Linked DNA regions of Homo sapiens: all the other regions are linked to region 4. The links are contacts of gene promoters, found by promoter capture Hi-C in human tissues and cell types (Jung and others, 2019). All regions are on one chromosome and are shown on one strand. The core of a region is centred on a gene start or on the middle of the fragment in contact, and the rest is flanking DNA. Distances in the headings are between cores, read along the strand shown.

Evidence for each region. Contacts are between HindIII fragments. The study calls those that stand out against the background at their distance.
Region 1: a contact is called between a fragment that was not itself captured here and the fragment with the promoter of ZNF600 in region 4, in 2 of the 25 tissues and cell types used here (H1 embryonic stem cells and adrenal gland).
Region 2: a fragment that was not itself captured here is called in contact with the fragment with the promoter of ZNF600 in region 4 in 5 of the 25 tissues and cell types used here (heart left ventricle, mesendoderm cells, pancreas and 2 more).
Region 3: a contact is called between a fragment that was not itself captured here and the fragment with the promoter of ZNF600 in region 4, in 1 of the 25 tissues and cell types used here (pancreas).

The regions. Positions count from the first base shown.
Region 1 is chr19:52,652,429-52,659,759 of GRCh38, reverse strand. LOC122539214 (Zinc finger protein LOC122539214) reads left to right here. Exons shown (of 4, transcript NM_001396016.1): 3 at 4,073-4,199; 4 at 5,357-7,331. The coding sequence ends at 7,092. It also overlaps a transcript of ZNF83 not described here. Among named protein-coding and RNA genes, the nearest start is that of ZNF83, 18 kb to the right of the region's middle. The HindIII fragment of the contact is 5,670 bases long and covers 2,863-7,331 here.
Region 2 is chr19:52,593,778-52,601,525 of GRCh38, reverse strand. LOC137778871 (a long non-coding RNA gene) reads right to left here and starts at 225. Exons shown (of 3, transcript NR_197425.1): 1 at 171-225. It also overlaps a transcript of ZNF701 not described here and the pseudogene ZNF137P. RefSeq lists enhancers at 6-55, 1-173, 126-185 and a silencer at 306-365. The HindIII fragment of the contact is 3,122 bases long and covers 1,850-4,971 here.
Region 3 is chr19:53,002,672-53,010,332 of GRCh38, reverse strand. It overlaps LOC124904758 (a long non-coding RNA gene), which reads left to right. Exons shown (of 2, transcript XR_007067327.1): 2 at 1,682-3,773. It also overlaps the pseudogene ARPC1AP2. Among named protein-coding and RNA genes, the nearest start is that of ERVV-1, 7.4 kb to the left of the region's middle. The HindIII fragment of the contact is 4,230 bases long and covers 2,413-6,642 here.
Region 4 is chr19:52,783,681-52,791,149 of GRCh38, reverse strand. ZNF600 (zinc finger protein 600) reads left to right here and starts at 4,359. Exons shown (of 6, transcript NM_001321866.4): 1 at 4,359-4,555. RefSeq lists enhancers at 1-318, 850-1,380, 3,683-4,540, 4,541-5,399 and silencers at 4,201-4,350, 7,098-7,274. The HindIII fragment of the contact is 28,786 bases long and covers 1-7,469 here.

The DNA.
Region 1 (7,331 bases), core at 4,448-6,947, 130 kb after region 4:
ATGTTGGATATTCTTAAGGTGTTGAATTTGTTTCTTTTGCATCCTGAAATTAGAAATTTTTGCCATTATGCCTTCCAACAAGCTTTTCTGTTCCTTTCTTCTTCTCACTCACTTCTGTGACTTCTGGTACTCTTTTTTTTTTTTTTGAGTTGGAGTCTTGCTCTGTTGAGGTATTGCTCCTCACAAGAGAGCATTAGCTGTGGGATCTGCATGTCAACCCTGACCTAAACCACATATGAATAAAACATACACTGACACACAGATAATTCCGTTTTGCTAGTTCTGCTGTGTTTCCGACCAGTAGCCTTAAGCAACTGTCTGAACATTTTTATATACCGTTTCTGTTGAGCTGACAACTATTGTCCCGTGATGAAACCTTAGCTTGACTCAACTTCCCCCAGAAGGTGGTAACCTCGAGTGGGCACCAATGACTTACTGATTACTCACTGGCTTGACCACGAAATCCTTCTTTGCCTTTGTTTTCGGGGGTCGCGTTCCTCATGCTTCCATCGCAGCTTTCCTCAAGAGGGCGGTCCTCACGCTTCCTTCACAGGTTGCCTCAAGAGAGGCTTGAACTGTGGGGGGTCTGTTTCTGCAGATCCCTGACTTTCCTCACACAGGACATCAACTGAGGTATTGCTCCTCACAAGAGGGCATTAGCTGCGGGGGTCTGCCCACGGACCCTGGCCCAGACGGATGAATGAAACGTACACCGACACATAGATATTCTGCTTTGCCAGTCCTGCTGGGTGCCCAATCGCCTGCACACCAAGAGCCGGCCCTGAGCAGCTCGCACTCCAGGCATTTATTTAGAATAGAATTAACAACAGAAGTTTGAGTAAACACACTTGAGGATAATTAGCATGGTTAAGAGAGTAGTTTCATGAATGATTAAAGCTCAGGTACTGTGATCTGAAGTAAATACCATTAAGGGGCAATTTCCCTGGTCAGCCTCCCGCTAGAGGGCCATCTGGCTCAAAGGTTAGTTAATGGAGGTAGGGTAAACAGGCTTAACTGGGGAAGCCTCTATTGTCCCTAGTATTTACCCTATGACCTAATGCTCTAAGGTAAGAACCGGGTGCCTTCAGCCTGTTCAATTATTACAAGCTATATAACCTTTCGGCCTTCCAAAAGGTTTGTGACTATTCCCTATAACTTTCCCTAATATTTCTCTTTAATATTTCTGCCCCTATCTTGAGTAAATCCCAACACTGTCACCCAGGCTGGAGTGCAGTGGTGCAATCTCGGCTTACTCCAGCCTCTGCCTCTGGATTCAAGCGATTCTCTCACCTCAGCTTCCCAAGTAACTGAGGTTACAGGTGCGCACCACCACACCTGGCTAATTGTTGTATTTTTGGTAGAGATGAAATTTCACCATGTTGGCCAGGCCGGTCATGAACTTCTGACCTCAGGTGATCCCCACACCCTGGCTTCCCAAAGTGCTGGAATTACAGGCGTGAGTGCTGAAATTACAGGCATGAGCCAGAACCTGGCCTGGGACTTTCATAATGTGTAGGATGGTGTCCTTGATGGTGTCCTGTTAGTCTGTTTAGACTCCCTTCATTTTTCTTTATTCTTTGTTGTTGTTTCTTTTCCTATTCACTACTTTTTTTTTTTTTTTTTGAGATGAAGTTTCACTCTGGTTGCCGAGGGTGGAGTGCAATGGCATGAACTTGGCTCATTGCAACCTCCGCTTTCATGGTTAAAGCAATTCTCCTGCCTTAGCCTTTTGAATAGCCGGGATTACAGGCATGCATCACCATACCCGGCTAATTTTGTATTTTTAGTAGAGACAGAGTTTCTCTATGTTGATCAGGCTGGTCTTGAGCTACCAACCTCAGGTGATCCCCCCGCCTTGGCCTCCCAAAGTGCTAGGATTACAGTCATGAGCCACCATGCCTGTTTTTTTTTTTAGACAGAGTTTTTCTCTTGTTGCCCAGGCTGGAGTGCAATGATGCAATCTCGGCTCACTGCAACCTCCACCTCCCAGGTTCAAGCGATTCTCCTGCCTCAGCCTCCTAAGTAACTGAGATTACAAGCATGCACCACCACATCTGGCTAATTTTGTATTTTTAGTAGAGACGGGGTTTCTCTATGTTGGTCAGGCTGGTCGCGAATTCCTGACCTCAGGTGATCCGCCTGCCTTGGCATCCCAAAGTGCTGGGATTACAGGCATGAGCTACTGTGCCTGGCCCATGCCTGGCCTTTTTTAAAAAATTATTTTATTATTTTTTGAGACAGTCTCACTCTGTCACCCAGGCTGGAGTGCAGTGGGGAGCCCACCACTACACCCAGCTAATCTTTGTATTTTTAGTAGAGACAAAGTTTCACCATATTGATGAGGCTGGTCTCCGAACTGCTGACCTCAAGTGATCTACCCACCTCAGCCTCCCAAATTCCTGATATGAGCTACCTCACCTGTCCCCTTTTCACTAATTTTTAATTTACATAATGTATTCTGATTTTGAACCCATGTATTGAGTTTTTCCATTTAGTTACTGTATTTTTAGCCCGAGAGTTTCTGTGTAGTTCTTCGTAATTTCTGTATGTTGGCTGACCTTCTCATTTTCTTCATGCATTGCATTTATGATTTCTTGAAGTTGTCTCTTAATTCAATGAGCTTCCAACTTTTGGGAGGGTGGGGGTGATAGGGTCTCGCTGTGTCCCCCAGGCTGGAGTGCAGTGGTGCAATCTTGGATCACTTCAAACTCTGCTCTCCAGGCTCAAGCAATCCTCCCACCTCAGCCTCGTGAGTAGCTGTGGATGTGTCCTCTCTAGGTCTTTGCTTATAATGTCCCGACTGAAGTTAATTGAAGTGTGTGTAGGTGTGATTTGCAATGTGTCCAGGAGAGCATTAATGGAGAAGCCCATGATTTTTTTTTTTTTTTTTTTTTTGAGACGGAGTCTCGCTCTGTCGATAGGCTGGAATGAAATGGCACTATCTCAGCTCACTGCAACCTCAGCCTCCCGAGTTCAAGTGATTCTTCTGCCTCAGCCTCCTGAGTAGCTGGGGCTACAGGCGCACACCACCATACCAAGCTAATTTTTGTGTTTTTAATAGTGTCAGTGTTTCAGCATGTTGGCCCAGCTTGTCTTAATCTCTTGACTTTGTGATCCACATGCCTCAGCCTCCATAAGTGTTCGGATTATAGGTGTGAGCCACCATGCCAAGCCAAGCCCATGGTTTTAGTAGAAAACACATTATTTGCAATATATACATACATATATTTTTATTTTGAGAAAGACTTGCTCTGTTGCCCTGGCTGGAGTGCAGTGCTGTCATCTCAGCTTACCACAACCTCTGCCTCCAGAGTTGAAGCAATTCCCCTGCCTCGGCTTCCCAAATAGCTGGGATTACAGGCACATTCCCCCACCATGCCCAGCTAATTTTTCTATTTTTAGTAGATATGGGGTTTCACAATGTAGCCCAGGTTGGTCTCAAACTCCTGACCTTAAGTGATCCACCTACCTTGGTATCCCAAAGTGACAGGATTATAGGTGTGAGCCCCCATGCCTGGCTATATATATATATAGAGAGAGAGAGAGAGAGACGGAGTCTCACTCTGCAGCCCAAGCTGAATTGCAGTGGCACAATCTCAGCTCACCGCAACCTTTGCCTCTGGAGCTCAAGCTATACTCCTACCTCAGCCTCCCAAATAGCTGGGACTAGAGGCATGCACAACCACACCCAGTTAATGTTTTTGTGTTTTCAGTAGAGACTTGGTTTCACCATGTTGCCCTGGGTGGTCTCGAACTCCTGAGCTCAGTTGATACACCCACCTCAGCCTCCCAAACTGCTGGGATTTCAGGTGTGAGCCACCGTGCCCAGACATATATTTTTTGTATTTTCCATAAAACTGAGACTTCCACAGTGACTAGGAGATTTCAAAATCTATCATGGGAAAGTACAATAAAATGCAACTGCACAAAAAGAAATGTTCAAAAATACCTTAATGTGGGTTTGTCAGAACACCGTCTTGGATCAAATCAATACTTATTTTCTCTTTTCTCATTTTGTGTGAAGGTAATGACTCCTCCCTAATGTTTTGTTGAAATGTGTGTTTAATTTTAGGGATGCTTGACTTTCAGGGATGTGGCTATAGAATTCTCTTTGGAGGAGTGGAAATGCCTGAACCCTGCACAGAGGGCTTTATACAGGGCCGTGATGTTGGAGAACTACAGGAACCTGGAGTCTGTGGGTGAGGAAAATGTCCCTCCTGATGTGAGGAATCTGCCCTTGTCTATCTTGGCTCTTCCTGGTTTTGTATTCTCTTTTGTGATTTTGCCGCATACATGCTTTTGATGTACATGTCATTGTTTTCTGCAGTGATGATCCTCCTGTCTGTCATAGACAGCTTCTTAGAGACTATCCTATGGAGTGGTTTTACATAAAAACAGAACATTCATGAACACTTTGACTAATAGAATTGAACGTCATCCTGCTCTAAGCAGAGATGCCCCTGGTAGCCCTGAGCAGAATTGTCAGGGTGGCCCAGGAGATGAGCTAGAAAGCATGACAGTGACTGACAAGTGTTTCCAGCTGTGATTCTGCTTTTGTTTTGTTTTGTTTTTTGAGACAGAGTCTCCCTCTCTTGCTCAGGCTGGAGTGCACTGTTGTGATCTCAGCTCATTGCAACCTCCGCCTCCTGCATTCAAGCAATTCTCATACCTCAGCCTCCCAACCTAACTGGAATTACAGATGCAAGTCACCATGCCTTGCTAATTTTTGTATTTTTATTAGAGATGGGGAATCACCATGTTGGCCAGGCTGGTCTCAAACTCCTTGTCTCAAGCAATCTGCCCACCTCAGCCTCTAGCCAAGTGTTGGGATTACAAACCTGAGCCACCACCCTTGGCCTTTTGTTCTGGTTTTTAAGGAGCATCACAGAAGCATCTCTCACTGGTACTGTGACAGTGATCATCACATAAACTAATGATCATGTTCTCTAAACAGCAGTCACTGCTGTAGAAATTCCTCTTAGGGAGGACATCATTCAGGCTTACTGCATCATATATATGAGGCTCTTGACTGAACTCTGTTTGACATGGAATTTTGCTCTTGTTGCCCAGGCTGGAGTGCAATGATGTGATCTCTGTTCACTGCAATCTCTGCCTCCTAGGTTCAAGAAATTCTCCTGCCTCAGCGTCCTGAGTAGCTGGGATTACAGGCATCCACCACCATGCCTGGCTAATTTTTGTATTTTTAATAGAGACAGGGTGTTCTTAAACTTTGAAGATCATATTTGGGAATTTTAAAATAAGTATTGCTTTTTGTGTAATATTAACACATTTCAGTATTAAATATTATTTACCATCTGTACTTAATTGGAAACCTATTGGTCTTTATATTTTTTAGATAGCTCTTTAAAATCCATGACGGAGTTCTCATCAACAGGGCACGGTAATACAGGAGAAGTGATCCACACAGGGACATTGCAAAGACATAAAAGTCATCACATTGGAGATTTTTGCTTCCCAGAAATCAAGAAAGATATTCATGACTTTGAGTTTCAGTGGCAAGAAATTAAAAGAAATGGCCATGAAGCACCCATGACAAAAATCAAAAAGTTGACTGGTAGTACAGACCGACGTGATCAAAGGCATGCTGGAAACAAGCCTATTAAAGATCAGCTTGGATCAAGCTTTTATTCACATCTGCCTGAACTGCACGAATTTCAGACTGAAGGGAAAATTGATAATCAAGTGGAGAAGTCTATCAACAATGCTTCCTTGGTTTCAACATCCCAAAGAATTTCTTGTAGGCTCAAAACCCATATTTCTAATAGGTATGGGAAGAACTTTCTCCATTCTTCATTATTGACACAAATCCAGGAAGAACACATGAGAGAAAAACCTTTCCAATGTAATGAGTGTGGCAAAGCCTTTAATTATAGCTCACATTTAAGAAGACATCATGTAACCCATTCAGGAGAGAAACAATATAAATGTGATGTATGTGGCAAAGTGTTTCATCAAAAGCAATACCTTGCATGGCACCATAGAGTTCATACTGGAGAAAAACCTTACAAGTGTAATGAGTGTTCCAAGACCTTCGGTCACAAGTCATCTCTTACACGCCATCATAGACTTCATACTGGAGAAAAACCTTACAAGTGTAATGAGTGTGGTAAGACCTTCAGTCAGACGTCATCCCTTGTAGGGCATCGTAGACGTCATACTGGAGAGAAACCTTACAAATGTGAAGGATGTGACAAAGTTTACAGTTGCAGATCACAACTTGAAACACATAGGCGAATTCATACTGGAGAGAAACCATACAAATGTAAGGTTTGTGACAAAGCTTTTAGGCATAATTCATGCCTTTCACGCCATAACAGAGTTCATACTGAAGAGAAACCTTACACATGTAATGAATGTGGCAAGGTTTTCCAGCGTGATTCATACCTTGCACAACATCAGAGAGTTCATACTGGAGAGAAACCTTACACATGTAATGAATGTGGTAAGGTTTTTAATCAAAAAGCACACCTTGCATGTCATTATAGGCTTCATACTGGAGAGAAACCTTACAAGTGTAATGAGTGTGGCAAGACCTTCAGTCAGAAGTCATCCCTTGTGGGCCATCGTAGACTTCATACCGGAGAAAAACCTTACAACTGTCATGAGTGTGGCAAGACCTTTGCTCGAAATTCATCCCTTCTAATTCATAAGGCAATTCATACTGGAGAGAAACCTTACAAGTGTAATGAATGTGGCAAGGTTTTTAATCAACAGTCAAACCTTGCACAACATCAGAGAGTTCATACTGGAGAGAAACCTTACAGGTGTAATGAGTGTGGCAAGACCTTCAGTCATATGTCATCCTTTGTATACCATTATAGACTTCATAGTGGAGAGAAACCTTACAAGTGCAATGAGTGTGGCAAGACCTTCAGTCATATGTCATCCTTTGTATGCCATCATAGACTTCATACTGGAGAAAATCCTTATAAGTGCAATGAGTGTGGCAAAGCCTTTAGTGGGCAGTCATCACTTATTCATCATCAAGCAATCCATGGTATAGGGAAACTTTACAAATGTAATGATTCTCACAAAGTCCTCAGTAATGCTACAAGCATTGCAAATCATTAGAGAATCCATAATGAAGAGAGATCTTACAAGTGTAGTAAATGTGGCAGATATTTCAGACATTGTTCATAGCTTGCAGTTCATCAGTGAACTCATACTGGAAAGAAACGTTACAAATGTCATGATTGCAGCAAGGTCTTCAGTCAAGCTTCATCTTATGCAAAACACAGGAGAATTCATATGGGAGAGAACCTCACAACTGTGATAATTGTGGCAGTCATTTTTTTTTCTTTTTTCAGATG
Region 2 (7,748 bases), core at 2,161-4,660, 190 kb after region 4:
GATTTTAAACCCAAAAGGAAGTGAACCCCGGACTCTCAAAGGGAAGTCTCAATTTGCTCTGGGTGAAGACGGGCGAGAATTTCCAGGTCTGTGGGGACCCCACGTCCCAGGTACAGACGCGCCGGGGACCTGGGACGCACAGACTTAATATAAAACAGAGAGAAACTCACGCGCTGCCGTGGGACCTTCACTCCACGCTCTCCGCTTCCAGGTTCGCGCTGATCTGCTCGCGCAGGACAGAAGCCAGGCCTGGGCGGGGTCCAGGAGGAGGTGGGCGGGGCCTGGGCAGGCGGAAGCGGGGCGCGAGGCGGAGAGACTTTGCCCTTTAGAACCGGCAGAGGGCGGGGCCGGGGCGGGACAGAGTCAGTCTTGAGCCCAGCGCCTCCGTTTTTCGGGTTTTGGAAGGGAGACTGGCCGGGAAGGCTGAGGCATGAGTCAAAAGCCCTGGAATTGTCTGGAACGGGGATGCAAACTAGAATGTGAAATGCAAAGTCCTGCCTGGGCAGAACTACGATTTCATACTGAGGGCCCACAGGACAGAACAGAAATCCTCTCCCTTTCTATTCTCCATTCACTCGGGGTCGGGGAGGGCGGGTCGGCGGTGGGGGCAGAGTCCACCCTGTGCTCAGCTTCAGAGACTTCCCTAGGGCCACCGCCTGGGATGCGGGACGGAGTGCTCAGGCCAGGGAGGAGCGAAGTCACCACCTGCTGCTTAAACACAGCAGAGATGCGGGCACTGGGGAGGGAGCCTGAGGTCCCAGCTACTCAGGAAGCAGCAGCGGGAGGGTTGCTGAGCCTGGGGTTCCAGACCAGCCTGGGCGACAAAGTAACACCCCCTCCCGCAGGGCTCCCTTCCTCGTTCTCTAACTTTTTAAAATAAAATTTTGATTGTGTGATGTAGGGATCCAACATTATTCTTTTCCATGTGAATATCAAGTTAGTTGTCCCAGCACATTTGTGGAGGAGATCTATTACTTTCTTAATTTCCTTTTTTTTTTTTTAAGACAGAGTATTTCTCTGTCGTCCAGGCTGGAGTGCAGTGGCAAGGTCTCGGCTCAGTGCAGCCTGTACACCCTGTGTTGAAGTGATTCTCCTGCCTCACCCTCCGGAATAGCTGGCATTACAAGCGCGCCACCATGTCCGGCTAATTTTTGTATAATTGGTAGAGATGGGGTTTCACCATGTTGGCCAGGCTGGTCTCAAACTCCTGACTTGAAGTGATCTGCCTGCCTTGGCCTCCCAGAGTGCTGTGATTACAGGCGTGAGCCACCATGCCTGGCACAAGAAATACTCTTTACTTCACTATTTAAATGTTGAGACAATATATTTGAAAACAAAATGATCTTCCCCCAAATGAAAAATCATCTCCACGATAATAAAGAAATAAAAATCATTTTATTAATAAATAAGCCTTAGACCAGAATGTGATGGGAAATAGAGGAAAAGAGCTAAGAGTTTGAAATCAGATGCTTCAGTGTTCTATACAACCCATTAAGGACATGTTTTCAAGATAAACACTAATCAGTCCTCAGGGAAGAGGACACATAGTTGAACAGTCACACATAGTTCATCCTGACTCTACTTGGTAATGGAGGTGACCATCTGTGTCAGCTAACTAGCGTCATCCTGAGGGAGGGGGAGAAACCCTAACCCACAACTTTTGGCAAGTGTGAGTTTTACAACATGGCGACAGGGGCCCTCTCTGGTGAGGCTCCTACAATCCGACAGAAACTGATGTCAGCAGTAAATAATAAAATTTAGAATATATGATTAAGTACAGAATTTATTTGAAGGCAAAGCTTGGAAATAGCCACGTGGAAACATCAACTCTAAATGAATGGGATCAGCGTTCCCAAGTAGAGACGTTAAGATTTCACACACAGGGAAAGACAGAGAAGCTTTAGCAGAATCACCACGTTTTTTATTCTGGGCCAGTGCATAGGCTGCAGCAACTTGATTGATTACGGATAGATACACTTCAAGGAAGGTTACTTTATCACTACATAAGAAGGGACAATGATCCGAGGAGGTCTTATCTCTGGGGCTACTTAGTCTTCTTAATTACTTACAGGAAAACTCTTAGAAGTTGCACCTGCATTCCACTGGACTCAGGTTGCCTGACCACATTCCTCTCAAGGCTCAGAATTATCTCAAAGTCCATAGCCTTAAATTGAAGTTATTTGATGTTTGAATTATTTAATTTCCTACTGAGATAAAGGTACTGTTTCCCTTGTTGTTTGCCTTTCAAAGAGAGCTCCCAAGTCCTTCAAAAATACACCCCTGGGTCATTAAGCTGAAAAAAGGTTTAATTTCTAAAAAAAAAAAACAAAGTTAGCCGGGCATAGTGGTTCATACCTGTAATCCCAGCTACTCGGGAAGCTGAGGCAGGAGAATCGCTTGAACTCGGGAGACGGAGGTTGTGGTGAGGCGAGATCGTGGCTTGCACTCAAGCCTGGGTAACAAGAGAAAAACTCTGTCTAAAAAAAAAAACCTCAGAAGACAGAGAAAATGAATTTACAAATTTTCTAATTGAATGTTCTAAGAGACAAAAGGAAAGAAAAATCTCTTCCTTTACTTTTAAAGGAGGACTTATACCTCTCATTTATTTGCTTGTTTGAGACAGGGTCTAGCTTTTTCACCCAGGCTGGAGTGTGGTGGCAAGATCAGAGCTCACTGCAGCCTCCAACTTTCTGGCTCAAGTGATCCTCCCACCTCAGCACCCCAAGCAGCTGGGACCACAGGTGTGGACTAACACACCTGGCTGTTTTTTTTTATTTTTAGTAGAGATGAGGTCTTACTATGTTGCCTAGGCTGATTTCGAATTCCTGGGCTTAAGCGATCCTCCCTCCTTGGCCTCTCAAAGTGCTGGGATTACAGGTGTGAGCCACCGCTCCGGGCCCTGAGTTTATTTCCATGAAATATGAAATTATCCTCCACTCCTGGGAGTAATAGGCAGTTTTGCACGTCACCTTTCAGTTTCCATTATCCACTCAAACAACCCAGGACCTTGCTTAGTTTAATAATCCCTTCTAATTGCCAGTGCCCGCGGCAACCAGCGCGCCACTCCACCCCTTTACCGAGGTCCCTGCCCCTCTCCCCCACCCTGCCCCAGACAGAGGGGAGCTCGCCCCGCCTGCCGGATGCGTGACTCTACCTGCTCAAAAAAGGCGCTTTGCATTAAAACCATTTTCAACTTAAGAGGAAAAACGATTCAGCGTTCAGTACAGGTGGCCCAACACAATATGTTGTTTTACCTTCGATTGTTTGAAATATTAACTTAGGGGCCGGGCGCGGTGGCTCGCGCCTGTAATCCCAGCACTTTGGGAGGCCGAGGCGGGCGGATCACGAGGTCAGGAGATCGAGACCATCCTGGCTAACACAGTGAAACCCCGTCTCTACTGAAAATACAAAAAATTAGCCAGGCATGGTGGCGGGCGCCTGTAGTCCCAGCTACTCGGGAGGCTGAGGCAGGAGAATGGCATGAACCCGGGAGGCGGAGCTTGCAATGAGCCGAGATCGCGCCACTGCCCTCCAGCCTGGGCGACAGAGCAAGTCTCTAAAATGGACAGGAGGCATCCCTGTGATATTAGGGGTAATATCACGGCACATCAGAAACTATCCACCAATTAGTACCCGGAGAATCTAGTCCTGCAGGGCAAGAGGATGACAGCAGACGACACCTGGGGTCCAGCTGAGGAGAAAGCCAGGACCCGCCCCCTCGAGACCCTGCCCTTCAAAACACCACTTCCAGACCTTGCCCTCAAGATGACGATCACCCTCTGGCCCGGCCTCCAGGCAGCCTCCTCATTCTTGCCCCGCCCAGATTCTGTTCAAGGCCCTGCCCCTTCTAATCAGGTCCCACCCCAACGGCCACCTACACACTCTCATAGCCAGGTGTGGCTGTGATCTATCAGCCTTGGGCTCCCAAAGTGCTGGGATTACAGGCATGAGCCACCCCACCTGGCCCAATCTTCTTAACATAAACACTTTAATGTAAATTAATTCTTAAACTCAAGGTTAAGTCAACTCAATCTCAAGTCAATGCCTATTTGGCTCTAATGTCAATTAAAGCTTTATGATCTTCTATAGTCACTGTATTTGGAACAGTTATCTCAAAAATGAATTTTCTGATGTTCTGCATGGAGTGCCCACAGACTGAAGACCTTGCCACACTTAAGACATTTGTAAGATTTCTGTCCAGTATGGATTCTCTGATGTCTAATGAGGTGTGAACGTGAAGTCAAGACTTTGCCACAATCATCACACTTGTGAGGTTTCTCTCCTGTATGAATTCTCCTATGTTTTGCATAGGATGAAGCTTGACTGAAGACCTTGCCACAGTCATGATATTTGTAAGGTTTCTCTCCAGTATGAGTTCGCTGATAAACTGCAAGATATGATCGATGTCTGAAAATTTTACCACATTTATTACACTTGTAAGATCTGTCTTCATTATGGATTCTCCAGTGATTTGCAATGGTTGTAGCATTACTGAAGACTTTGTGACAATCATTACATTTGCAAAGTTTCCCTACACCATGGATTGCTTGATGATAAAAAAGTGACGACTTCCCACTTAAGGCTTTGCCCCACTCATTACACTTGTAAGGTTTCTCTCCAGTATAAACTCTCTGATGTTGTGCAAGGTTTGATTGTTGATTAGAAACCTTAGACAGTATGAAGTCTATGATGACATGCAAGGTGTGCTTTTCTACTAAAAACCTTGCCACATTCATTACATGTGTAAGGTTTCTTTCCAGTATGAATTGCCTTATGCATTACAAGGGCTGAATTTTGAGCAAAGGTCTTTCCATACTCGTGAAATGTGTAAGGTTCTCTCCAGTATGAACTCTCTGATGTTGTGCAAGGCATAAATCATGGTGGAAAACCTTGTCACAACCCTTACATTTGTAAGATTTCCCTCCAGTATGAAGTCCATGATGTGCAAGGTTTGCTTTTCTACTAAAAGCCTTGCCACATTCGTTACATGTGTAACATTTCTCTCCAGTATGAACTCTTACGGCATGAAAGGCATGAATTATCCCAGAAAGCCTTGTCACAAACCTTACGTTTGTATGGTTTTTCTCCAGTATGAATTCTCCTGTGTGTTTCAAGTTGTGATCCTCAACTCTAAACTTTGTTGCATTCTTCACATTTGTAATGTTTCTGTACAGTATGAAGTCTATGATGACACTGAAGGGATGACTTCTGATTGAAGGTCTTGGAACACTCATTACACTTGTAAGGTTTTTCTCCAGTATGAACACTATGGTGCCATGCAAGGTATTGCTTCTGATGAAAGACTTTGCCACATACATCACATTTATACTGTTTCTCTCCTGAATGGGTTACGTGATGTCTCCTTAAACATGAGCTATGATTAAAGGCTTTGCCACACTCATTACATTGGAAAGGTTTTTCCCTCATGTGTACTTCTTGTATTTGTGTGAATAATGAAGAATAGAGGAAATTCTTCCCATACTTAATAGAAATATGGGTTTTGAGCCTACAAATTATTTGGGATGTTGAAGCTGAGGAAGCATCATTGATAGACTTCTCCACTTGATTACCAATTTTCCCTTGGGTCTGAAACATGTGGAGTTCAGGCAGATGCGAATGAAAGCTTGATCCAAGCTGATCTTTAATAGGCTTGTTTCCAGCATGTCTTTGATCACGTCAGTCTGTACTACCTGTCAACTCTTTGGTTTCTGTCATGGGTGCTTCATGGCCATTTCTTTAAATTTCTTGCCACTGAAACTCAAAGTGATGAATATCTTTCTTGATTTCTGGGAAGCAAAAATCTCCAGTGTGATGACTTTCATGTATTTGCAACGTCCCTGTGTGAATCACTTCTCCTGTATTACCGTGCCCAGTTGATGAGAACTCCATCATGGATTTTAAAGAGCTATCTAAAAAATATAAAGACCAATAGGTTTCCAATTAAGTACAGATGGTAGGCCAGGTGCAGTGGCTCACACCTGTAGTCCCAGCACTTTGGGAGGACGAGGCAGGTGGATCACAAGGTCAGGAGCTCGAGACCATCCTCGCTAACATGGTGAAACCCTATCTGTACTAAAAATACAAAAAAATTAGCCAGGTGTAGTGATAGGTGCCTATAGTCCTAGCTACTTGGGAGGCTGAGGCAGGAGAATGGCGTGAACCCTGGAGGCAGAGCTTGCAGTGAGGCGAGATCATGCCACTGCACTCCAGCCTGGGTGACAGAGCAATAATCCATCTCAAAAAAAAAAGTACAGATGGTAAATAATAGTTAATATTGAAATGTGTAAATATTACACAAAAAGCAACAGTTATTTTAAACGTCCCAAAAGTGATCTTCAAAGTTTAAGAACACCTTATCTCTACTAAAAATACAAAAATTTGCCAGGCATGGTGGTGGGCGGCTGTAATTCCAGCTACTTGGGAAACCAAGGCAGGAGAATCACTTGAACCCAGGAGGCGGAGGTTGCAGTGAGTGGAGATCATGCCATTGCACTCCAGCCTGGGCAACAAGAGCAAAATTCCATGTCCAGAAAAAAAGAGTTCAGTCAAGAGCCTCCTATATATGAGGCAGTGAGCCTGAATGATGTCCTCCGTAGGAGGAATTTCTACAGCAGTGACTGCTGCTTAGAGAAGATGATCATTAGTTTATGTGATGAACACTGTCACAGTGCCAGTGAAAGATGCTTCTGTGATGCTCCTCAAAAACCAGAACGGGCCAGGTGCGGTGGCTCATGCCTGTAATCCCAGCACTTTGGGAGGCCAAGGTGGGCAGATCACCTGAGGTCGGGAGTTCGAGACCAGCCTGACCAACATGGAGAAACCCTGTCTCTATTAAAAATACAGAAATAGCCGGGCTTGGTGGCACATGCCTGTAATCCCAGCTGCTAGGCAGGTTGAAGCAGGAGAATCGCTTGAACCTGGGAGGTGGGGGTTGCAGTGAGCCGAGATCGCACCATTGCACTCCAGCCTGGGCAACAAGAGTGAAACTCTGTCTCAAAACAAAAAACAAAAAACAAAAAAAACAGAACAAAAGGCCAGGTGCGGTGGCTCATGCCTATAATCCCAACACCTGGATGGAGGCTGAGGCAGGCGGATTGCTTGAGACCAGGAGTTCAAGACCAGCCTGGCCAACATGGTCATATCCCATCTCTAATAAAAATACAAAATTAGTCCCCTCTCCCTCTCCCTCTCCCCATGGTCTCCCTCTCCCTCTCTTTCCAGGGTCTCCCTCTGATGCCGAGCCGAAGCTGGACGGTACTGCTGCCATCTTGGCTCACTGCAACCTCCCTGCCTGATTCTCCTGCCTCAGCCTGCTGAGTGCCTGTGATTGCAGGCGCGCGCCGCCACGCCTGACTGGTTTTCGTATTTTTTTGGTGGAGACGGGGATTCGCTGTGTTGGCCGGGCTGGTCTCCAGCTCCTAACCGGGAGTGATCCGCCAGCCTCGGCCTCCCAAGGTGCCGGGATTGCAGACGGAGTCTCGTTCACTCAGTGCTCAATGGTGCCCAGGCTGGAGTGCAGTGGCGTGATCTCGGCTCGCTACAACCTCCACCTCCCAGCCGCCTGCCTTGGCCTCCCAAAGTGCCGAGATTGCAGCCTCTGCCCGGCCACCACCCCATCTGGGAAGTGAGGAGCGTCTCTGCCTGGCCGCCCATCGTCTGGGATGTGAGGAGCCCCTCTGCCTGGCTGTCCAGTCTGGAAAGTGAGGAGCGTCTCTGCCCGGCCGCCCATCGTCTGAGATGTGGGGAGC
Region 3 (7,661 bases), core at 3,278-5,777, 220 kb before region 4:
TCGAGAAAGGCCGTGGGATTCTCATGTGGCCCTTGGTCGATGGTTGCTAACTTATTATAATTGACAGGCTTGACTTGACTCCTTTTCATTCCCTCTATCAGGCATAGGAGCATATGATTTCTGGCGCAGATTCCTGCCGGGGTATCGTAGTCCCAGTTGGGGTCCTGCAGGGGGACAGCTGTAGCTCCCACGGGGTAGTTGGCATCTGCCAAGTGTAGCTCATCCCCGCATTGACGTGCTGCCTCCCAGATGGTCTGTCTTTCTTCCAGAGACAGGGTTTGTCCTAGGAGGATGGCGACATCCTTCCAGGTTAGTTCAAAAGTGAGGGTTAATTTACGGAAGCCCTCCAGGAATTTTCCCGGATTCTCTGAGAATTTTCCCAGGCCTTCCTTAACTTGGGACAAGTCCTGCATGGAAAAGGGGACCTGGACTTGGACTGGTCCTACTGGTCGGCTCACCACTGGTAGCAGGCAGATTCCAGAGCGGGGGCCTGAGGGCCTAGTGTAGGTTGAGGCTGACCCATGAAGGCTAAGAGTGCGATACAAGGAGGAAGGAGCTGGGGGTGCTTGCTCTTTCTCTTTGGTCTCAGGAAGAGGAGGTTGAGGTGGGTTGACCAGGAAATCATTGAAGCCTCCTGGTTGAGGTCTCTGGAGTGGACGACTGAGGATAGCTAAAAGGGCAGGATCTATCTTGCAGCCTTTACAAAAATCGGGGTTTTCCCTCAAGATCATGAAGGTTTGCACATAAGGGACCTCTGACCATTTGCGCTGCTGTCGGCAGTAGACGTCAAGCTGGAGTATGGTATTAACATTTAAGCTTCCCCCCACTGGCCAGGCTTCCTGCCCTTCTAGTTCATATTTTGGCCAAACTGTATTGCAAAGAAAAACCAATCTTTTTCGTTTCAATGCCTGGGGATCAAACTTATCCCAGTTTCTAAGGATGCATCCGAGAGGGGAATCCTGGGGTACGGAGCTCTGGTTACCCATCTGAAAGAGAAGACAGGAATGAATATAGGATAGAGAAGGCATCTCTCCACCTATTGGGTGCCTCAGGAAGGTGAGGCATTCCACACCTTGGCCTAGGTGAAGTGTCCATGCCTCTATTTACAGGGATGATTGGTTCTTCACCCTGGGGCTCCAGAATTAGCTAGCCTTAGCATTTGCACCATCCATTGTCTCCCTGTATCTCATTTTGCTCAGAAGCCTTTCTTAGATTTCCTAGGATTGATGCCTAGGAGGGACGCCTTTCTCACCTCTGTGTTGGGCCAGGAAGCATGTAAGAACGTCGGGCATGGGAGTAGTTCTCTTGTCTCTCATATTCCCAGTGACCTTGGTTCTGCAAGAAGTCCAGTAGTTCTGCCCCTGCTAAAGTCTGCAGAGAAGGGACTCCATGGTAAGGTCCCCTTAATGCATGATAATATTGGATTAATGCATACAGATGGTTAGAGGAATGGAGGTAAATTTGATATCTTCCCCTGGTCATAGTAGGTTCCTTGGGGATCATACAGAAAAAATGCTTAAACAGGCATGGAAGGCCCCTGGGGCTCAGAGTTAGTGGACTGGGCTGTTGATTCTGGTTTTTTACGTCCCTGATATGATCACATAAGCAGCAAGGGGAGTGCCGGGGGCATTTTCTGTCAGCTTTTTCAACATAATACAAAAAGCACCTGACTGCCGTACAGGTCTGTAACAATGGCTTGAGGAGGCGGATGAAGAACTTCCCATTGACCCACAGGAAACCCCGGTTGTAAAGAGAAACTGGGGTCTGAGAAAGAGGCCTATAAATGACCATCCGGAGGAACCAGACAGCTCGCTTGAGGAGCCACAGAATGAGGCATTCTTGAAGAGTAGTCGGGCGGAGAAGGACCCGATAGTAAACGAGGGATGCCTGTAAGCGAGCATCCTGCCAGTGCCGGTCCCTGCAGTGAGAAAGGAGGCAACTGAAAGGACGAAGCTGGGTCTCATCTCTAGGGAAAAAATAAGTATAAACTTCCTCACAGGCCCGGGCAGGCCTCCGGCGATTGGCAGTGAAGCAAACGCAGCAGGTCCCAGACAAGCAGGACAGACAAGGCACTTGTACACGAAGGAGGAATTCAAGGAAGCCCGGCGACGAGGACAGGGACAGCAAAGAGTAAGCAGAGTGACCTGGGGGATTATTCACCGGTGGCGGCATATTGTGTCCAGGAGAATGAACTGCCATGAACAGCAAGTAGAAGAGCCGACTCAACATGGAATAGTAGTTTTAGTTGAAGATATGAAGCTCCCCAGTCACTGCACAGCCAGGGTGGATTTTCTGCCACCTTCACAAGCCTCCTGCAGGGAGGGTCACCGTGTCTCAGATCTACTCACTGTGGAGTTTAAATCCTCCCTCCTCTGCTTGTCACCCCTCAGGGTGAGCTGAGAAGTCAGCCAGAGGGAGCAGAGTGACAGTGGCTGAAGGGAAATGGTACTGGGCAGTTGATAGTGAACAGAGCCCGAGAGGAAAAGCCCCTCCCCTTAAGGCTGCAAGATCTGCATTAGGGCAGGAGGTTCTTCAGTGCAGAAAGAAGCAGAGGTCGTCAACCAGAGGATCTGGCACCAGCTTTTTGGCACTTACCCAGAAGAACAGTTCACAGGCCACCAGGGGAAAACACCAGATGTTACCAGGAGGGGCGTGGAAGTCCTCTGGTTCTTGGTCTCCTTGAATTCAGTCAAGAGACACGCAGAAAGAGTTAAGCAGGTAAGTGCCCTTTATCTAAAGGCGTAGGAGCTCGGAAAGAAGAGATACCCTGAACAGTGGAGCAGGGTGGGCTCCTCAAAAGAATGAGCCTGTCCCTACTAGTGTTGGGCAGAGCCTTTTTGTGAGAATCTGACATGATTATTCATGAAGGGGCTGTGCAGGGATGTTCCTAGTAAGCACGTTCCAGGAAGTCCTCTGATCAGGAAAGCCCTGTGACGGTCCGTGCTGGTACACACGTCACATATCTCATTAGCATCTCAAATCTCCAGCCAGGGATGTGTGTTTCAGTATCATTTTGAGCAGAAGGCTCTTCTAGGGTGGGTTATTGCAGAAGTACACATGGTTGTTAATGGGGAAAATCCCCCATCTCGATTATGTCCAGCTAGCCCCTGATAAGTCCCCTTCTGGGCCAGAGGAGTGCAGCCACAAGGCCAGGTGGAGGCAATGTAGCCACTGATCTTTTCTTGCTGTCAGTGGGCAGCATCTTTAAGGAGACTCTCAGTGAGTTGCATTTCTTTTTTCTTTTTTCTTTTCTTTTTTTTTTTTTTTTGAGACAGAGTCTCGCTCTGTCACCCAGGCTGGAGTGCAGTGGCCCGATCTCGGCTCATTGCAAGCTCCGCCTCCCGGGTTCACGCCATTCTCCTGCCTCAGCCTCCTGAGTAGCTGGGACTACATGCGCCCACCACCAGGCCAGCTAAGTTTTTGTATTTTTAGTAGAGATGGAGTTTCACTGTGTTAGCCAGGATGGTCTTGATCTCCTGACCTCGTGATCCACCTGTCTCGGCCTCCCAAAGTGCTGGGATTACAGGCATGAGCCACTGTGCCTGGCCAGTGAGTTGCATTTCTAAATATTCCTTTCCAAAGTGTCAGAGACATTTGAACCAGAGCAATTCCATCTGGAATAGGGGCTGGAGAAAATAAGCCTGAGACCTGCTGGGTTACATTCCCAGTAAGTGAAGGCATTCTTAGTCATAGGATGAAACAGGAGGCTGCTCTGACTATGGAGTAGCCATACTTTATTCCTTTACTCTCTTAATAAACTTGCTTTCACTTTACTGTATGGATTCACCTTGAATTCTTCCTTGCGTGAGATCCAAGAACCCTCTCTTAGGTTCTGGATCAGGACCCCTTGCGGGTGACACAGAATCTCCTTACCTGCTCATGCCTCGCTATCTGCCTCCTGCAATACTTTCACCTGGTTTGTGGATAGAAAAACTTAATTACACCGAGTTCATCCACTTCTGTATGTTCTCTCTGTATAACCAATCTGAATGTAAATTCACCTTAAGCTTTTTCCCCCAGGTCACAGAAAAAAACAGAATTTTCACCTTCGTTGAGTTTATTCTCATCAACTTATTTCTCTGATAGAGAGAAAACTTCTATTAAGTGTCTTCATCAGGGCTCCACTGGTATAAAAAGGGATGTCAAGAAAATTTAGATGAATTTGAGATGTGACATGAATCTGACATATAAATTAGTGCTAGTATTTTCTTTTCTTTTTTCTTTTTTTTTGGGGGGGCGGTGGGGAGGGAGTCTCACTCTGTCACCCAGGCTGGAGTGTAGTGGTGCAATCTCGGCACACCGTAACCTCTGCCTCCCAGGTTCAAGGGATTCTCCTGCCTTAGCCTCCCAAGTAGCTGGGATTATGGGCGCCCGCCAGCATGCCCAGATAATTTTTTTTTTAATTTTTAGTAGAGATGGGTTTCACCATGTTGGCCAGGCTGGTCTCAAACTCCGGACCTCAGGTGATTTACCCACCTCAGCCTCCCAAAGTGCTCCCAAAGGTGTGAGCCACCATGCCCGGCCTCTTTTTTCCGCTTTCGTTGCCCAAGCTGGCATGCAGTGGCGCCATCTCGGCTCACTGCAACCTCCACCTCCTGGGTTCAAGCGATTCTTCTGCCTCAACCTCCCGAGTAACTGGGATTACAGGCATGCACCACTGTGCTTGGCTAATTTTGTATTTTTAGTAGAGATGGGGTTTCTCCATGTTGGTCAGGCTGGTCTCAAACTCCCCACCTCAGGTGATCCACCCGCCTTAGCCTCCCAAAGTGCTGGGATTACAGGCGTAAGCCACTGCACCCGACCTAAGTGCTTGTATTTTCTTTCTTTCTTTTTTTTTTTCCCACATTTAGTTCTTTTATTTAATTTTCTAGTGGACAATTTACATATCTCCCTCACCCTGTCTTTTAAGTTAGTGTGACAATTTTCCATAATAAACTACTTAAAGGGAAGCTTTGGTCAAGAATGGAATGAAATCGCAAAAAAAATAAAAAAATAAAAAAAAAAATACTGCTTTAAAAAAACCAGCATTTTCACCAATTTTATATTCAAACAAAACCACACAGCATTGGCCTGCTATGTGTTTTCAGTGTTTCCTTGGGTCTAGCTTCCTCGCCATCGTGCCACGGCACAGCTGCGGTTGGCCACAGTTTGTCATGCTAGATGGCGAAGGCTCACTCAGCTTCACATTATGTGGAGGACCTGGATGGAAGACTCGAGGGTCTTGAAATCCCAAATTGTCATGGCTCCATCAATGCCAGTAGTGCAAAATTTGCGACAACCTTGCTTGTCTACCTCATAAATAGAGACGTGAGTGATGCTATTCTGGTGCAGCCTCTCCAAGGCCATGTTGTGGTCCTCAATCGTGGCCCTCGTGTCCATGTTGCGGAAGTGTTCTATGGCAGACATGTTGCGTTGGATGCTCTGTTTTGGAATGTCTAACTTGGAGACGAAGGTCAGGCAGCCGCGGTCATCATAATTAAAGAGCATTGGGTAGCAGTCATGGCCAGCAGCCACGACACTGTTCTCTGAGACAAATGACACACTCAGGAGTGGTAGGAACTCTGTCTTCAGAATTGAGACCTGCACACTTTTTGAGGCATCAGCAACAGATAACGGTGCTGTCGTGGCTGACCCAGGCCAGGCGGCTCCCACTGGCAGAGAAGCTTACCCCGTGGACCCAGCCACCGGTGCCACTGCCACCAAACTCTGACATCAGCTGCCCAAAAGGCATCTTGGTGCCCCAGGGCATGCTGGCTGGCTTTTCATCCACTTCTTTAATGTAAGCAGAAAACACTCTGCATTTGAAGTCACATGATCCTGCTGCCAGCAAAACATTGTTGGGATGCCAATCCAAGCTGAGGACTGTGGAGCGAATCGGCTTTTTAATATGCTTGCTTACCCACCAGTCATTTTCAGACTCAAAGTAACAAACAAATGAGTCATGCTCCACTTCCCACAGCAAATTTGTTCTCTAGCGGGGACCACTTCACAAAAGTAGCTGCACGATTAATTCTAAGGATCACCAGGGTTGGCTTCCAGACACCATCTTTCTGACTCCAGACATAGGCATTGCAGTCTACCCCGCAAGTGACGATGCGGTCGCTCTTGGGAGCCCAGTGAATGCCTGTGATATGTCCATTGTGCTCACTGAGTTCACGAGCTTTCACTCGCTGGCTCCCATGCTTCTTATAGATGTGCGCTTCCTGATTATCAGGACTGAGGGCAATCTGGGTACGATCCCTGTTCCAGGCACGACAGGTGATTGGCTCTAGTAAAAACTGATGCAGTGATGTCATTCTTAGTGTTTTCAAAGGAGAGAAGGCTGGGATCGGGGAAGTCCGGACGGGCTCAGAGCAGAGGATTTGCGGACTCTGGGCTGTCGACGTGAACCAGTGCTTGCATTTTGTAATTGTTACCAAAGAATTGATAAAACTGTGAGAGTGTGTTTTTCCATGGTCAGCAGGAAAATGGAAAAGGAAACACCATTTTTCTTTTTCTTTTTCTTTTGGAGACAGAGTCTCGCTCTGTCACCCAGGTTGGAGTGCAGTGGTGTGATCTTGGCTCACTGCAACCTCTGCCTCCCAGGTAGGTTCAAGCAATTCTCCTGCCTCAGCCTCCCGATTAGCTGGGATTACAGGCTCACACCACCACGCCTGGCTAATTTTTTTGTATTTTTACTTGAGATAGGGTTTCACCATGTTGCTCAGGCTGGTCTCAAACTCCTGAGCTCAGGCAGTTCACCCGCCTCAGTTTCCCAAAGTACTAGGATTACAGGTGTGAGCCATCGCACCCAGCCCACTATTTGTCTTAATATATCTCTAGGTTTCTGTTCAATTTAACAGTTACACAGACCCCTGAATTTAGAGATTTAGAGCCATATCTTCCAATAATTACTAATGTCTCTTGTATGTGATAGGAATGAATAACACACAGCCAAAATGAACACTCAAGGCCCTTTCGTTCCATTCAAAAACTGAGGTATGGGGCAACATCGCTATTGTTCCTATTTTTAGTTCTATTTTTCAAATTCTACACATGTATTATTATTTTTTCTCTTGGAGACGGAGTTTCGCTCTTGTTGCCTAGGCTGGAGTACAATGGTGCAATCTCGGCTCACAGTAACCTCCGCCTCCTGGGTTCAAGCGATTCTCCTGCCTCAGCCTCCTGAGTAGTTGGGATTACAGGCATGCACCACCACACCTGGCTATTTTGTATATTTTTAGTAGAGACGGAGTTTCTTCATATTGGTGAGGCTGGTCTCGCTCCTGATCTCAGGTGATCCGCCTGCCTCGGCCTCCCAAAGTGCTGGGATTACAGGTGTGAGCCACTGCGCCTGGCCTATATTTATTATTTTTTAAATTTTGTTTTATGTTACGTGTGGTGACAGTGTTGAAGTTTATTACAACCCTGTAAACCTAGTAAAGGGTTGAAGAAATAGCAAAGATTGAAGAAACCACCAGAGGAGCACATGTTCCCCAGGCCTCTTGAGGCCTCTAGGGCAAAAGCAAAACAAAAACAAAAACAAAAACAAACAAACAAAAAAACAAATAAAACCCACCGGAAACCACTCCCCTGCCCAATCCCTTGTTTTTGTTTTCCCTAGAAACAGCTTACTTCAAAGCTTACCCTCTTTGTTTACATAAGAAAAAACTCCAAATTCC
Region 4 (7,469 bases), core at 3,110-5,609:
CACATATGAAACATATACTTTAATATGCACAGATATCTGGTAAATTCTGGAAAAGGAGACCTATAAGGGGAGATAGTTTGTATCTGATTTGGTAGTGCATTTGAAGTCACACTAGTAGATCAACATGTCTCTGACTTCAAACTTTTTTTTTTAAAGAGACAGCATGTTGGTCTGGGTGTGGTGGCTCACACTTGTAATCCCAGCATTTTGGGAGTCCAAGGTGGGTGGATCACTTGAGGCCAGGGGTTTGAGACCAGCCTGTCCCACATGGTGAAACCTCATCTCTACTAAAAATATGAGTTGGGAGTGATGGCTCATGCCTGTAATCTCAGCTACTCAGGAGGCTGAGGCAGGAGAGTCACTTGAATCCGGGAAGTCGAGGTTACAGTAAGCCGAGATTGTGCCACTGCACTCCAGGCTGGGCAACAGAGCAAGACTCCATCTCAAAAAAAAAAAAAAAAAAAAAAGGAGAGAGAGAGAGATAATGTTGCTCTGTGGCTTAGTTTTAGAGTACAAAGGCACAATTTAGAGTTTACAGCAGCCTGAAACTCCTAGGTTCAAGTAATTCCGACTTTAGACTCCCAAAGAGCTTGAAAGATAGGCATGGGTCACCACATGTGGGTAATTGTTTTATTTATTTATTTATTTATTTTGAAATGGAGTCTCGCTCTGTTGCCCAAGCTGAAGTGCAGTGATGCGATCTCAACTCACTGCAACCTCTGCCTCCTGGGTTCAAGCGATTCTTCTGCCTCAGCCATCCAAGTAGCTGGGGCTAAAGGTGTGCACCACCACACCTGCAAAATTTTTGTATTTTTAGTAGAGATAGGGTTTCACCATGTTGGCCAGGCTGTTCTCAAACTCCTGACCTCATGATCTGCCCTTCTTGGCCTCCTAAAGTGCTGGAATTAAAGGCGTGGGGCACATGTATGTCAGGCCTCTGAGCCCAGGCCAGGCCATCGCATCCCCTGTGACTTGCACGTATACGCCCAGATGGCCTGAAGTAACTAAAGAATCACAAAAGAAGTGAATATGCCCTGCCCCACCTTAACTGATGACATTCCACCACAAAAGAAGTGTAAATGGCCGGTCCTTGCCTTAAGTGATGACATTACCTTGTGAAATTCCTTCTCCTGGCTCATCCTGGCTCAAAAAGCTCCCCCACTGAGCACCTTGTGACCCCCACTCCTACCCACCAGGGAACAAACCCCCTTTGACTGTAGTTTTCCTTTACCTACCCAAATCTTATAAAACGGCCCCACCCCTATCTCCCTTCACTGACTCTCTTTTTGGACTCAGCCCGCCTGCACCCAGGTGAAATAAACAGCCATGTTGCTCAAACAAAGGCTGTTTGGTGGTCTCTTCACACGAATGCTCATTAAAGTGTACGGCCGTATTTTTCATATTTTTTTTAATTTTGTTGTCCAGGCTGGAGTACAGTGCTGCAATCATACCTCACCATAGCCTTGATCTCCTGGCCTCAAGGGATCCTCCCATGTTGGCCTCCCAAATTGCTGGCATTCCAGGTGTGAGACAGCCTCCCTGGCTGGACTCTGTACTTTTTTGTGATAGAGTCTCGCTCCATTGCCCAGGATGGATTGCATTGGTGAAGAGGTGGGTTGCCCCTCCACACCTGTGGGCATTTCTCGTCAGGTGGAACGAGACACTTTGAAAAGAAAGAGACACAGAGACAAAGTATAGAAGAGAAAGTTACATGTATACATAAAATGAGTGAGAAAATACATTTCCAAAATTCTTTTGAGTTGAGATGTGAGAGAAAAATGTTTCAAGACCTCATCCCTAGATATCTGAGTCCCAGGAGCTCTGTGACATCAACTCCTGCCTCTGTCCTCCTCCCTACCTCTACTGTAACCATGCAGGCTTCTTTTCTTTTTCTGGGACTCAGGTTGCTCCTTTCTCAGGGCCTTCACCTGGGCTGTCCCTCTGCCTAGGACTCTCTGGCCACTCAGCTGCAAGTGACAAGCAGCCTTTCTTCCCTAAGTCTTTGTTCTGACATCACTTTTTCTATGAAAACTTTTGTGTTCTCCCACAGTCCCCCATTTGACATGACAGCCCCACCTTCACCCCCATCTCTGGCCCATGTTGCCTGTTCTGTGTGATCCTTTTTGCTCCTTCGCTGTTCACTGGATCCTGGTGGGAACAAGTCCCCAAGCGGAGAGCAGAGCCAGAAGGTGGGGCTCTGCGGGGCTGGTGCCCTGAGTGGAGCTCAAACTTGGCTTCACATTAGGGTTTTCAGGCATTTTGCAAATATAGCTTCTATGCTGTTTTATCAGAGATTGCTATTATCACAGTATGGGACCCACCCTCAATAATACCTACAATGGTGCAGGTGATTCTCATCTGTCTCCAGCATTGAACATCAAGGCAGTTTCCTCCATGTTGAGAGCTGAGATCAGCCTGTGATCCACAGGGAGGTGAGGGGGCTGTGCTCTGCATGGGGTTTGGTTAGGGCCAGATCTGTGCCCTGAAGATCTGTGTCCTGCTGCAGCGTGTGTGTGGACTTTTGCAGGAGGGAGCAAGACCTCAAAACAGGTCAAAATTGCCCTTGTAGGTCTTCCTGTGGCACCTTCTTATCTCCACATAATCTCTGGTGCAGTGGGCAGCAGAGAACCATCTTTATCCCTGGTGAGGTCTCCCCTGTGTGTGTGTTTTGTCACAGGAAAGGAGGGAGTGATTTCTAAAAATTAAATCTCGTATTTTTTTTTACATACAGGATTGATTTTCCAAAGACTCATGTTACGTGAGGAAGACACCAAGAGGAGCAAAGAAAAGGAGCCAGGGATGGCTCTTCCTCAGGTGGAGTAATATTCCTCGGTGGATTCTTCTGTCTCTTTCCTTTCTGAAATGCCAGGTATTGTAGTAGCCAGTCTTCTGTGAGTCTGAAGCATCCTGCCTCACACGTTTGCTCACACTAACCCATGCCTTTTCTCAGTCCTTGTCATCTTCACTTAAATTCCATCTTCTATAACCTAGTGACATGAGCTTGGGAAGAGGCTGCACTGGGCATGGTCCTGGGAAGGGCTCACACCAGAGATGGATGGAGATGGGGTGTGGACCCCAAGGTGTCAGTGATATTGGGCAGCAGGGATTGTTCAGGGGCCACATCTGGATGCACATTTAGCTCTTTGTGGATCAGATCAGAGAATCTATGTATGAAAGTCATACATTAATGTATGCACTGGTATCTGTGTACTGGTATCTGGTAAATTCTGGAAAAGGAGACAAACTAGGGGAGATATTTCTTTTTCTTTTTCTTTTTCTTTTTTTTTTTTGAGACGTAGCCTCGCTCTGTCGCCCAGGCTGGAGTGCAGTGGCACGATCTTGGCTCACTGCACGCTCCGCCTCCCGGGTTCACTCCATTCTCCTGTCTCAGCCTCCCTAGTAGCTGGGATTACAGGCACCCACCACCACGCTTGGCTAATTTTTTTGTATTTTTTAGTAGAGATGGGGTTTCACTGTGTTAGCCAGGATGGTCTCGATCTCCTGACCTCATGATCTGCCCGCCTCAGCCTCCCAAAGTGCTGAGATTACAGGTGTGAGCCAGCGCGCCCGGTCTTGTTTTTGTTTGGGTTAGGCGGGCTCCTGTAGTTCCAGTTACTCGAAAGGCTGAGGCAGGAGAAGGGCGTGAACCCGGGAGGCGGAGCTTGCAGTGAGCCAAAATCGTGCCACTGCACTCCAGCCTGGGCGACACAGCGAGACTCCGTCTCAAAAAAAAAAAAAAAAAAAAAAAGTAAAAGAGCGAGAGAGAGATCAGGAAGAGGACCCTGCAGTTAGGGGGTGTTACTTTGTCGCCCAGGATGGCCTGGACCCCCAGGTTCAGGGATTCTCCCGCCGCTGCTTCCTGAGTAGCTGGGACCTCAGGCTTCCGCCTCGTGCCCGCATCCCTGCTGTGTTTAGGCAGCAGGTGGTGACCTCACTCCTCCCTGGCCTGAGCTCTCCGTCCCGCATCCCAGGCGGAGGCCCTAGGGAACACTTTGAAGCTGAGCACGGGGTGGACCCTCCCTCCTGAGTGAATGGAGAATAGAAAGGGAGAGGATTTCTGTTCTGTTCTGTGGGCCATCAGCATGAAATCGTATGTTCCGCCCTGGCAGGGCTTTGCATTTCACATTCTAGTTTGCATTCCCGTTCCAGATAATTCCAGGGCTTTTGAATCATGCCTCAGCCTTCCTGGCCGCTGTCGCCTCCAAAAACTCGAAAAACAGAGGCGCTGAGTGCGAGGCTGAGAAGCACAGGTCCCGCCCCGGGCCCTCCCTCTGCCGGTTCTAAAGGGCAAGGTCTCTCCGCCTGGGGCCCCGCCTCTACCCCGCCCAGGTCCAGCCAACCTGCCCCGGCCTGGCTTCAGTCCTGGGCGCGCACAAACCCGGAAGCGGATCGCGTGGAGTGAAGGTCCTACCACGGCGCGTGAGTTTTGCTCTGCCTTGGATTAAGTCTGCACTTCCCAGGTCCCCGGCGCTTCTGCCCCTGGGACGTGGGATCCCCACGGACCTGGAAATTCTCGCCTGTCTTCCCTTCACCCAGAGCAAATTGAGACGTCCCGGTAAGAGTCTGGAAGTTGCTTGCTTTTGGGTTTGAAGTCGCTCGGAGGCTGGTCCCGTCCCCGGTCTTTCTGCTATAGGGCAATGTATACACTTCCTATCGCGTATTTTTCCTGCTCAAAACATTTTTCTGACTATTCCCGCCCCGTGCTTTTTAAAGTCCTCACCCGCGAGGTGGATTCCAGCCCTGGGCGCCTCCCAGCCTCGCCCCAGTTGGCACCTGGAGCGCGGCGCCCCGGCCCCAGCCCCGGGGAGGCTGCGTCCTCTGCCTGGTCCTGGGATCCTGCAGGTCCCACCTTTGTCTTAGGGTGCCGTCGCCCACCACGTCCCTCCTGGTGCCGGGCCCTGCTGCTCCCCAAGTCTTCGCTTCCCCTGAGCCAGGGTTGGGGTGGGTCGCAGGGGCTTGTCCTATGATACCAGGTGTTCTTTCCTGTCCAGCTCCACCCCCTGGAAAATGCGCTTCTACGGGATGCAGGCGTCTTACTCCAAACCCGCCTGTGATTACTCCAAACCCGCCTGGGCCAAAGGGATCAGGAGATAGAGAGAGGGACTGAGAGAGCAGTAGAAAACCAGAGACAGAGAAAAGAAGAATGAGAAAGGCCCATAACAGATGGCAAAGTAGAGGATGGGTTAGGAATTTGCCAAGAGACAGCAAAAGTGAAAGAAAAAAAACTAAGAAAGCAGGAGGAGAAAAGCAACTGGAGAAATGTAGAGAAAAGCTAGATGTACAGAAAGATGAAGGACAGCAAGGTAGGGAGAGGGGCAGCAAAGAGGGAGGCTCACCAGAGTGAGGGAGAGGAGGAGGGATTTGGAGCCAGGGCAGACAGAGCAGAGTGGTGCTGGTGGCAAGAACAGATGGAGAACCACAGCAGGGAGGACACCTGGGGATCTGAGGTGCTGGAGAGTGGGGACAGAGGGGTATAACAGGGAAGAGAGAATTTAATAGGGAGAGCAGAGGAGACGGAGAGATAAGAGAAGAGGCTGTAATATATAGACATTGAGGAAGATTGAAAGATTGGGGAGAAAGAACAACAAGAGGTTAAATAAGGACCGGGCGCTGTGGGTCATGCCTGTAATCCCAGCATTTTGGGAGGCTGAGGCGGGTGGATCACCTGAGGTCCGGAGTTCGAGACCAGCCTGATCAACAGGGAGAAACCCCGTCTCTATTAAAAATATAAAATTAGCTGGGAGCGGTTGCACATGCCTGTAATCCCAGCTACTAGGGAGGCTGAGGCAGGAGAAACCTTTGAACCTGGGAGGCAGAGGTTGCGGTGAGAGCCAAGATCGCACCGGTGCACTCCAGCCTGCACAACAAGAGTGAAACTCCATCTCAAAAAGGAAAAAAAAAAAAGAGGTTAAATAAGCTGTGAGAATGGAGCAGAAGAGGTGGAAGAGAAGTAATAGAGGGAAGAAGGGGATAAACAGCAGGAGAGGAGAGGGGTACAAAATGAGGAGCACAATCCCAGGGAAAAAGAAAAGAAAACAAGAGCTAGAGAGAGAAGGGGAGAATGAGAGATATGCACAGAATTAGGGAGGGAAGCACAGTAATGAAGAAAGAGGGGCTGGGCGCAGTGGCTCATGCCTGTAATCTCAGCACTTTAGGAGACTGAGGCAAAGGGATTGCTTGAGTCTAGGAGTTCAAGACCAGCCTGGGCAAAATAGTGAGGCTCCCCCCATCTCTGTCAAAAAAGGAAAAAAAAAATTTAACCGGGTGTGATAGTGTGCACCTGCAGTTTCAGCTTCTCTAGGCCGAAGCAGGAGGATCACTTGAGCCCAGGAGCTCCAGGCTGCTGTGAGCAGAGATCATGCCACTGTACTCCAGCCTGGTCAAAAGAGCAAGACCCTGTCTCAAAAGAAAAAAAGGGTGGGGGACTTTGGGTACAGATAAGTGGGTGAGTTCATTGGATATGATTAGTTGTGACATGTTGACTTCTGTGTATATCATCTAATACCTTGTTTAAATTATACAGATGAGATTTAGAATTTTAAAACTCCTGTCTATGAGACATGTACATTCTATAAATTTTGGTATCAGAGGTTAGCTTCTACTTGGAATCCCAGTTATTCAGTTGTGAGTCAGTCTCTTCCCTTTTCCCAGGGTGGGGTAGGAAGTGGGACAGTGATGTGGGGGAAAAAAAATCACTTTCTCTTATTACATAATACTTTTAATTTATTAATTAGTTTATATTTTGAGACAGGGTCTGGCTCTGTCACCCAGGCTGGATTACAATAGCGTTCTCTACTCTAACTGCAGCCTCGACCTCCTAGGCTCAAGCGATCCTCCTCCCTCAGTCTCTCTAGTAGCTGAGACCACAGGTGTGAGACACCAAGCCCAGCTAGTTGTTTTTTTTCTTTGTTTGTTTGTTTTTTTGTAGAAACAGGGTTTCAGTATGTTTCCCAGGCTGGTCTCAAGATCCTGGGCTCAAAGTTTCCTCCTGTCTTGGCCTTGCAAAGTACTGGGATTACAGGGATGAGCCGCCATGCCGGGCCTACCTACTAATTATTATTATTATTTTTTTTTGAGGTGGAGTTTTGCTCTTTTTGCCCAAGCTGGAGTGCACTGGCACGATCTTGGCTAATGACTATCTCTGCCTTTAGGGTTGAAGCGATTCTCTTGTGATACTTCCCCCGAGTAGCTGGGATTACTGGCATGCGCCACCACGCCCTGCTAATTTTGGATTAGGAGGCTGAGGCAGAAGAATCACTTGAACCCGGGAGGCAGAGGTTGTGGTGAGCTGAGATCGCACCATTGGACTTCAGCGTGGGCAACAAGAGCGAAACTCCGTCTAAAAAACAAACAAACAAACAAAAAACAAAAAAGAATGGAGCAAAACAGGAGAGGGGCATAAAATGAGCAGAAGTCCAGGGGGAAATGCAGAAAAGAAACAGATGGAGAGAGAAGGTGAGAAAGAGCTA